Regions from separate parts of the Homo sapiens genome. Here all the other regions are linked to region 3. Evidence: promoter capture Hi-C in human tissues and cell types (Jung and others, 2019). All regions are on one chromosome and are shown on one strand. The core of a region is centred on a gene start or on the middle of the fragment in contact, and the rest is flanking DNA. Distances in the headings are between cores, read along the strand shown.

Region 1 (2,700 bases), core at 106-2,605, 180 kb after region 3:
TCTGATAGATCAGGGGCTCAGGCAAGTCTGGGGAGGGGGCCTCACCTCCCTCCCAGCCCCTGGAGGGAGTGTTGGACCCTCTCACCCCCCTCAAAGCAGTTCCATTGCTCCCTTTGACCTTCAAAGTTGGCATCTGCTTGCAGGAATCTGTCTCTCTCCTCCTGGAATTCAGCCTCCAGATGTCAGATCCGAGGCGGTGGCGGCAGCATATGGCTCCCCTCAGAGTGAATCAGCCACATTCCAAAGGTGCACACACAGACGCCACACCCTCAGCAGCCTGGCTGCAGACTTCCTCCCAGCCCCAGCACCCGGCACCCGCCCCAGCCCCCACCTCTTCCCAGCCAGACCCGACTTCGGGCTTCCTTTCCAGAGACTTTCTCCTGGAACTGGAACAGAGAGAAAGCCACTAGGGCTGGAGACACCCTGAGCAGCCCTGCTCTGCTCACTCGCTCCCAACCGCTCACAGCTGTTATCAATATATCTATGGTGCATCCACTCAACAGGTGTGCACTGAGCACCTATGATGTGGCAGACAAGATACAGACAAGCCCCGAACCTCACGGAACTCAGCTGGGCAAGAGCCCAACAAAATCAGGTCCAGAGGCAGAAAAGAATTCCAAGTGTGGGAAGAGCTATAAAAGGAAGAAACAGGCCTGGCGCGGTGGCTCACGCCTGTAATCCCAGCACTTTGGGAGGCTAAGGCTGGCAGATCATGAGGTCAGGAGATGGAGACCACCCTGGCCAACATGGTGAAACCCCGTCTCTATTAAAAATACAAAAATTAGCTGGGTGTGGTGGTATGTGCCTGTAATCCCAGCAACTCGGGAGGCTGAGGCAGGAGAATCGCTTGAACCCAAGAGGCAGAGATTGCAGTGAGCCGAGATCACGCCATTGCACTCCAGCCTGGCGACAGAACAAGACTTCATTTCAAAAAAAAAAAAGGAAGAAACAAGGGCTCAGACACGTGACAAAGTGACAGAGGGAGGGTTATGGGGTGGGGGAGGCTTATCTTGGGGTAACTTGTAAGCTGAGGTCTGAAGGATGAATAGAAACGTCCTCTATCGGCTGGTCATGGGATTGCACACCTGTAACCCGGGAGCTCCGGGAGGCCCAGGCAGGAGGACTGCTTGAGTCCAGGAGTTCAAGACCAGCCTGGGCAATATAGCAAGATCCCATCTCTACTAAATTAAAAAAAAAATTTTTTTTAAAGAAACCTCTTCTATCCCGTCACTTCTGTAATCACTTCACGAGAATTACAGAAATATAACCCAAAAATATTTTCCCCAGTCACTCAGGAAGTTATTGGGTCCTCTTCTCCTGCCCCTCTTTTTTTTTTTTTTTTTTATCACTGAAGCAGGGAATCTGGCTAATTTTTTTAATAAGACCTTTGGTGAGGCCGGGTGCAGTGGCTCACACCTGTAATCCCAGCACTTTGGGAGGCCGAGGTGGGCGCATCACGAGGTCAGGAGATCGAGACCATCCTGGCTAACACGGTGAAACCCCGTCTCTACTAAAAATACAAAAAATTAGCCAGACATTGTGGCAGGCACCTGTAGTCCCAGCGACTCGGGAGGCTGAGGCTGAGGCAGGAGAATGTCCACCAACCTGGGAGGTGGAGCTTGTAGTGAGCCGAGATTGTGCCACTGCACTCCAGCCTGGGCGACAGAGCAAGATACCGTCTCAAAAAAAAAAAAAAAAAAAGAAAAAAAAAGACCTTTATTGAGATATAATCCATATAATTCACCACTTTACAATTACACCACAGTAGATGATTCAGTTGTTTTTAAATATCCACAGATCTGTGCATCTATAACTGCAATTTTGGAATATTTTCTTTTTCTTTTTTTTTCAAGACGGAGTCTCACTCTGTCACCCAGGCTGGAGTGCAGTGGCATGATCTCGGCTCACTGCAACCTCTGTCTCCCGGGTTCAAGCGATTCTCCCGCCTCAGCCTCCCAAGTAGCTGGGACTATAGGTGAGCACCACCGGGCCCAGCTAGATTTTTTTGTATTTTTAGTAGAGACGGAGTTTCATCACGTTGGCCAGGCTGGTCTCGAACCCCTAACCTCAAGTGATCCACGTGCCTTGGCCTCCTAAAAGTGCTTGGATTACAGGCATGAGCCACTGCAACTGACCAATTTTGGAATATTTTCATTAACCCAAAAAGAAACTCCACTTAGCAGTCACTCCCCGATGCTCACCACCACCCCAGGCCCCAGGCAACCCCTAAGCTACCCTATCTTTTTATTTATTTATTTTTAGAGACAGAGTCTCACTGTGTTGCCCAGGCTGGAGTTCAGTGGTTTGATCATAGCTCACTGTAGCCTCTACCTCTCAGGGTCAAGCAGTCCTCTCCTCTCAGTCTCCCGTGGAGCTGGGACTACAGGTGGGCGCCACCACACTCAGCTAACTTTATTTTTTTTTAGAGATAGGGGTCTCACTCTGTTGCCCAGGCTGGTCTTGAACTGCTGGTCTTGAACTCCTGGTCTCAAGTGATCCTCCTGCCCCAGCTTTCCAAACTGCTCATGCCTGTAGACGTAAGCCACTGCCCCTGGCCCTTAATCTACTTCCAGTCTCTATGGATTTGCCTATTCTGGAAATTTCATATGAACAGAAACACACAACATGCGTCCTGTGTGTCTGGCTTGTCACTGGGCATAATGCTTTCAAGGGTCATCCATGTTGTAGTATGTATTGGTG
Region 2 (2,700 bases), core at 94-2,593, 250 kb before region 3:
TTTCCTCAACATGGTTTGCGTGCTGCTTCCCTCAGCCCTGAAGGGTGGGGACAAGGGTGGAATGGAAGGTGCCTGTCATAGCAGCCAGCTGCCACCAGAACACAGTAATGACCCAGCAGCCCCTGCACGTTAGCCCAATCATCTGGGACAGGGGAGCAAAAACGGGTTGTTTACCACCACCACAGCTGAGAGGGGCACCAGACCCCGGAGAGGTGCTACAGTCAGCTGCCTATCCACCCTGCTTACAGGGAGAGGATTCTCCAGCCAAGAACAGTCCTGGAGGAAGAAGAATGTGGGGGCTGAGCTAGGAGCTAGCCTTTGCAGAAGCAGCCCCAGACCCCAGATTCCCAGCCACCTCAGATTCCCCAGCCATATTGTAAGAACAAGCAAACAGACATCCAGAGACCAGGTCCTTTGCCCCAAATGCTGTGAGATGTAGCTGGCAGGCGGCAACAAGAAGTCAAGAAAGGGGGAAAGAGCATATTCCAGACGTGAAAGCAGACTTGGAAGTGCCAGTCCATGTACAACGCGTGGAGGCGTGTGGGCTATTTGAGAGCCACAAACAGAAAATGAATGCCTTAAGTCCAAAAAGTATGCCAGTACCAGGTATGTTGGCTCACACCTATAATCCTGGCACTTTGGGAAGCCGAGGCAGGGGGACTGCTTGGGTCCAGTAGTTCAAGACCAGCCTGGGCAACATAGCGAAACCCGGTCTCTACAAAAAAAAGTACAAAAATTAGCCAGGCATGGTGGCACATGCCCATAGTCCTAGCTGCTCAGGAGGCTGAGGTGGGAGGACTGCTTGAGCCCAGGAGATGGAGGCTACAGTGAGTCAAGATCACGTCACTGCACTCCATCCTGGGTGACAGAGTGAGACCCTGACTCAAAATAATAATAAAAAGGTACACCATAAAATGAGAGAATTCAGAAACAACTGAGAAGCACAACATGATGGAGAATCACAAGCTGAAGAACAACCTTAGTGTTACTCATCATAGACTATGCTGATAAAGAATATCCGTGGCTGGGCATGGTGGTTCACACCTGTAATCCCAGCACTGTGGGAGGCCAAGGCAGGCAGGTCACCTGAGGTCAGGCGTTCGAGGCCAGCCTGGCCAACATGGCAAAACCCCTCCTTTACTAAAAATACAAAAATTAGCGGGGCATGGTAGTGCATGCCTGTAATCCCAGGAGGCTGAGGCACCAGAATCACTTGAATCTGAGAGGTGGAGGCTGCAGTGAGCCAAGATCGTGCCAATGCACTCCAGCCTGGGCGACAAAGCAAGACTCTGTCTCAAAAAAAAAAAGAATATCTGCAACACATCTAGCAATGTATACCTGGAGAATATATGTGCTGCCTTTCACATTTTAAGACTCTACCAACACACAGGCTCTTGAAGGAAAATTTGCTATGATCAAAACTATAAATGCATATGCCTTTTAACCACTAATTCTATTTCTATGAATCTGTTCCATAGATTTGCCTGTCCGCATAACTTTACAAGGCTATTCATTAAAGCACTGTTTGTGAGAAGACAAGACTGGAAATAACCTAAATGTCCACCAGTGGGGAGAGGATTAAAGCAATTATGGCACAGGTCACATAATGGAATGGTAGACAACTGTAAGAAGACAATAAACGTATGCAGCTGTGTGTACACTATGCTACCTCAGTTAAGAAGAAAAAGGCAGGAAGGGGGAAGAGAGAACTAAGAGTCAACAGCGTCTGCCTGAATACAGATAAACCCTGGAAGACAGCACTACTTCCAGTGGTTACCTGGGAGGAGCTAGGTGGAGGGAGGCTCTCTCTACAGGTTTTGTCCTCTGAGTTTTCTGAGCCATGTGAATGAACTACTAGTTTAAGTAATTAAAGGAACTAATTTTTTTTTTTTTTGAGATGGAGTCTTGATCTGTCGCCCAGGCTGGAATGTAGTGGCGCGACCTCAGCTCACTGCAACCTCCACCTTCTGGGTTCAAGCAATTCTCCTGCCTCAGCCTCCTGAGTGGCTGGGACTACAGGTGCACGCCATCACACCCGGCTAATTTTTGTATTTTAGTAGAGACGGGGTTTCACCATGTTGGCCAGGACGGTCTCGATATCCTGACCTCATGATCCATCAACTCAGCCTTCCAAAGTGCAGGGATTACAGGCGTGAGCCCACCGCGCCCGGCCAAGAAACTGATTTTTTTTTAAGGCACCCCCACTGGGGATATACTGGCCCAGGTGATTAACTTCAGCACCAGGTGGTAACACCTGGAATGGTTCCCAGTGCTCCAGTTTCCAGTTAGGGTCCTTATGATTTGAGGATAAAATGTGAAATGGGTTCACTATTAGTTCAAAATATATTTAGTGTACAAATAAGCTTAAAAGGCTAGAAAAGAAAAGGGCACTTTAAAGAAGAACTTTTCGAAAGTATTTTTTTCTAAAGGGATGTGACAATCGACATGTAACATTTTGTACCCAACGCTCACACAGGGAAATCTGACATTATTTCAAAATACTCAAAAATTAGTTGGCTGTCATGTCTTGTGGCTTCTAGCAAATCAATGAAGAAACCTCTAATATAAAGATGATGTTAAAAATGGAGCTTGTGACAAAGCAAGTGATGATCAGACGCCACACTAAAACACAATCCATTTTCCTATCTCTGGATGGCGCCTCTTAGGGGTAATTTGTACTTTGTTCAAATAATTCTCATT
Region 3 (2,700 bases), core at 16-2,515:
CGGCTGGAGGCCCTCTCGAACAGCTGGGGCAGCTTCTTCTGCCTGCGCAGCCGGCCTCCGCCGCCCACTCGCCGGGGGACGCCCCCGGAGTCCCCAGAGCTGCTGCAGCTAGAGGAGATGCTGTATTTGCAGTGCTTGGGGTGGCTGTTGGAGGACAGCTGCTTGGGGTTGATCTTGACGCGCACGCTGTTGCTGTCCCCGCTGGAGTCGCAGCTCACCTCGGTGCTGTGGTGATGCAGCAGCTGCTGGTGGGGTGGGGAAGCCATGTTGTCGAGTCCCGGGGCCTGCCCCGGCCGGGGTCACCAGTACCTGCCAGCAAAACGGGGAGAGTTAGCGGCGCTCCCACCTAGGCATGCACGCCTAGAGGCCCGGGACCTGCTCCTGTCCTAAGGGGCGGCTCCAGCACGCGACCTGGACAGGCACCATCTGTTCCTGTGGTTCCCGGCTCAGCGGTGCTCCCACCGCCCCCACCGCCCCCACCTTCGAGGCGCACGAGAACCGCTCGGGACGGACCTAGAACGCCCGGGGGTCCCCGCCGCGTGGCCGCCGTGGCTCCGGGACCGCTTTGCTCGCTCGCCTTCCGCGCCTCTCGCCCCGAGGGTGGCCTCCGCGCCGCGCGGCTTCTCCTCCTCGCGCGCTCGCCTCCTCCAGCTGCGGCTCCGGAGGGAAGTTCAGACCTTGAGCGCTCCCAGCCCCGCGAGCCGCCTGCGCACAAACAACTCCGCTGGCGGCGCGGAGCCCTCCATCCTGCAGGAGCCGCGCTCCGATGCGTCAAAGGCGGCGCGCGGCCGGCCCCGGGCCCGGACCCCGACCCGGAGCAGCGAGCTTCGGCGGGCGCCCCCGGCTCGCGCTCCCCGGCCGCCCCCCGCGCTCCGGGCCGGCCCTGCCCGCGGCGGCGGGCGCTGGGGGTGGGGGCGCCCCGGGCTGCGAGTGCGCGGAGCCCGTCGGCGCGGCCCGTCTAGTGGGGCCTGCTTCCCCCCGAGTGCGCCGCCGCTCCCGCCGCGGCCGCAGCTGTCCCGGGACCGAGCGCGTGGAACCACGGACGCGGGCCCCTCGCCGGGCGGCGGTGCAGACGCTGCCGCAGAGCCGGGCTCCCGCGACGCCGGCCGGGACGCCCGCCCGCCCGCGCCCACGCCGGGGGCCGCCTCCCCGAGCTAGAGATGCGGCCGCCGCCGCGCCCGCCGCCGTGTCCCCCGCGGCCGCTGCCTCATGTCGGAAGAGCTGCCGCCGCCACCATCTCCGGCCCCTGCCCCGCCCGCTGTCACTGACAGACGCGCGCCCGCGCCGCCCCTCGCCCAGCCGCAGCGCGCACGCGCGGCCCGCGCTCGCCGCCACCGCCTCCTGGCCCCGGACACGCGCACGGGCCGCGCGCCGCCCCGCCTTGGTGCGCGCGCTGGGCTGGGGCTGCGGGGCGGGGCGGGGCGGGGCGGGGCGCGCGCTCGGCTCCGCCCCCCGCCCCGGGCGGCGCCGCTTCTAGGCGGCGGGCTGTGGCCGCTGTCCGCGCTCCGGGCGCTGTGGGCCCGCCCTCCCTCGGCGTCCCAGAGGCCGCGCGCCGCCCGGGGTCCCGACCCTGCGGAGAGACCTGAAGGCGCCTGCCGTGGAAGAAGCCGCTGGCCGCAACGTTTGGGAAATCAAAATGTTGCCTTCCCACTCGGCACGCCTTTGGGATAAATCGAAGTTTCCAACCGTTGGATTTCCCTCCCGGGAGGCTCCCCTTGCTCTGTAAGCAATGAATGCGGGCCCCGGGGCACTCGGCCTGCCCTGGACCTGCTCACGGGGCGACCTTCACGGGCCTAGCCTCCAAAGCTGGGCCCACCGACGACCACGTTCCCCCGCCCCAGGGGTAGTTTACCTTGCTGTCCTTGAGCCCTTCTCCCCCTCCTCATGAACTACTGCTTTTCCTTTTACACAAATGAGACTTTCAAAGGAGTCCGCGTCCCATAATGGCAGTTGTGCATTGGCCTCCATAAACATTGCCACGTGTAAATAAAATCCTATTCTCTCTAGCATGCAGATCCCGACCCCTTCTCCCCACACTCCACAGTGCCTCCTGCCAGTCACGGGGCTCTCTTCCATCCCCTCCCTCGCCTCCCAGGCCCAGCGCCGGGGCCCACACCAGGTCTCACTGTTGAATTAGAAAATAAAAGTAAAATGTGATCTGTCCATGCAATGGAATATTATTCGGCTACAAAAAGGAATGGAGCACCGATGCATGCTGCAGTGTGGAGGAACCCGGGAAACGTTATGCTAGTGAAAGAAGCCAAACAAAAAAGGCCACATAGCGTATGATTCCATCCAGATGAAATGTCTCGAATTGGCAAATCCGTAGAGGCGACACAGATTGGAGGTTGCCAGGTGCTAGGGGAGGAAGATAAGCAGCTTGGGGTTTCGTTTTAGGATGATGAAAAAGTCTAGAAATGATCCAACAGGATGAATCTACATACTGCCCTTGAATCATACACTTTAAAGTGGTTTAGGCCGGGAGCGGTGGCTCACGCCTGTAATCCCAGCACTTTGGGAGGCCGAGGTGGGCGGATCACCTGAGGTCGGGAGTTCGAGACCAGCCTGACCAACACGGAGAAACCCCATCTCTACTAAAAATACAAAAATTAGCCGGACGTGGTGGCACATGCCTGTAATCCCAGCTACTCGAGAGGCCGAGGCAGGAGAATTGCTTGAACCCGGGAGGCGGAGGTTGTG

Evidence for each region. The method cuts DNA at HindIII sites, captures the fragments that hold promoters and counts their contacts. A contact is called where the count stands out against the background at its distance.
Region 1: a contact is called between a fragment that was not itself captured here and the fragment with the promoter of ADCY9 in region 3, in 1 of the 25 tissues and cell types used here (dorsolateral prefrontal cortex).
Region 2: a contact is called between a fragment that was not itself captured here and the fragment with the promoter of ADCY9 in region 3, in 1 of the 25 tissues and cell types used here (IMR-90 fibroblasts).

Annotation. Positions count from the first base shown.
Region 1 is chr16:4,299,020-4,301,719 of GRCh38, forward strand. No RefSeq gene overlaps it. Among named protein-coding and RNA genes, the nearest start is that of GLIS2, 16 kb to the right of the region's middle. RefSeq lists a silencer at 89-383. The HindIII fragment of the contact is 8,673 bases long and covers 1-2,700 here.
Region 2 is chr16:3,863,763-3,866,462 of GRCh38, forward strand. All of the region lies in intron 1 of CREBBP (CREB binding lysine acetyltransferase), which reads right to left. Among named protein-coding and RNA genes, the nearest start is that of CREBBP, 16 kb to the right of the region's middle. The HindIII fragment of the contact is 4,434 bases long and covers 1-2,700 here.
Region 3 is chr16:4,115,177-4,117,876 of GRCh38, forward strand. It overlaps ADCY9 (adenylate cyclase 9), which reads right to left and starts at 1,266. Exons shown (of 11, transcript NM_001116.4): 1 at 514-1,266; 2 at 1-309. The coding sequence starts at 266. RefSeq lists a silencer at 1,404-1,473. The HindIII fragment of the contact is 7,185 bases long and covers 1-2,700 here.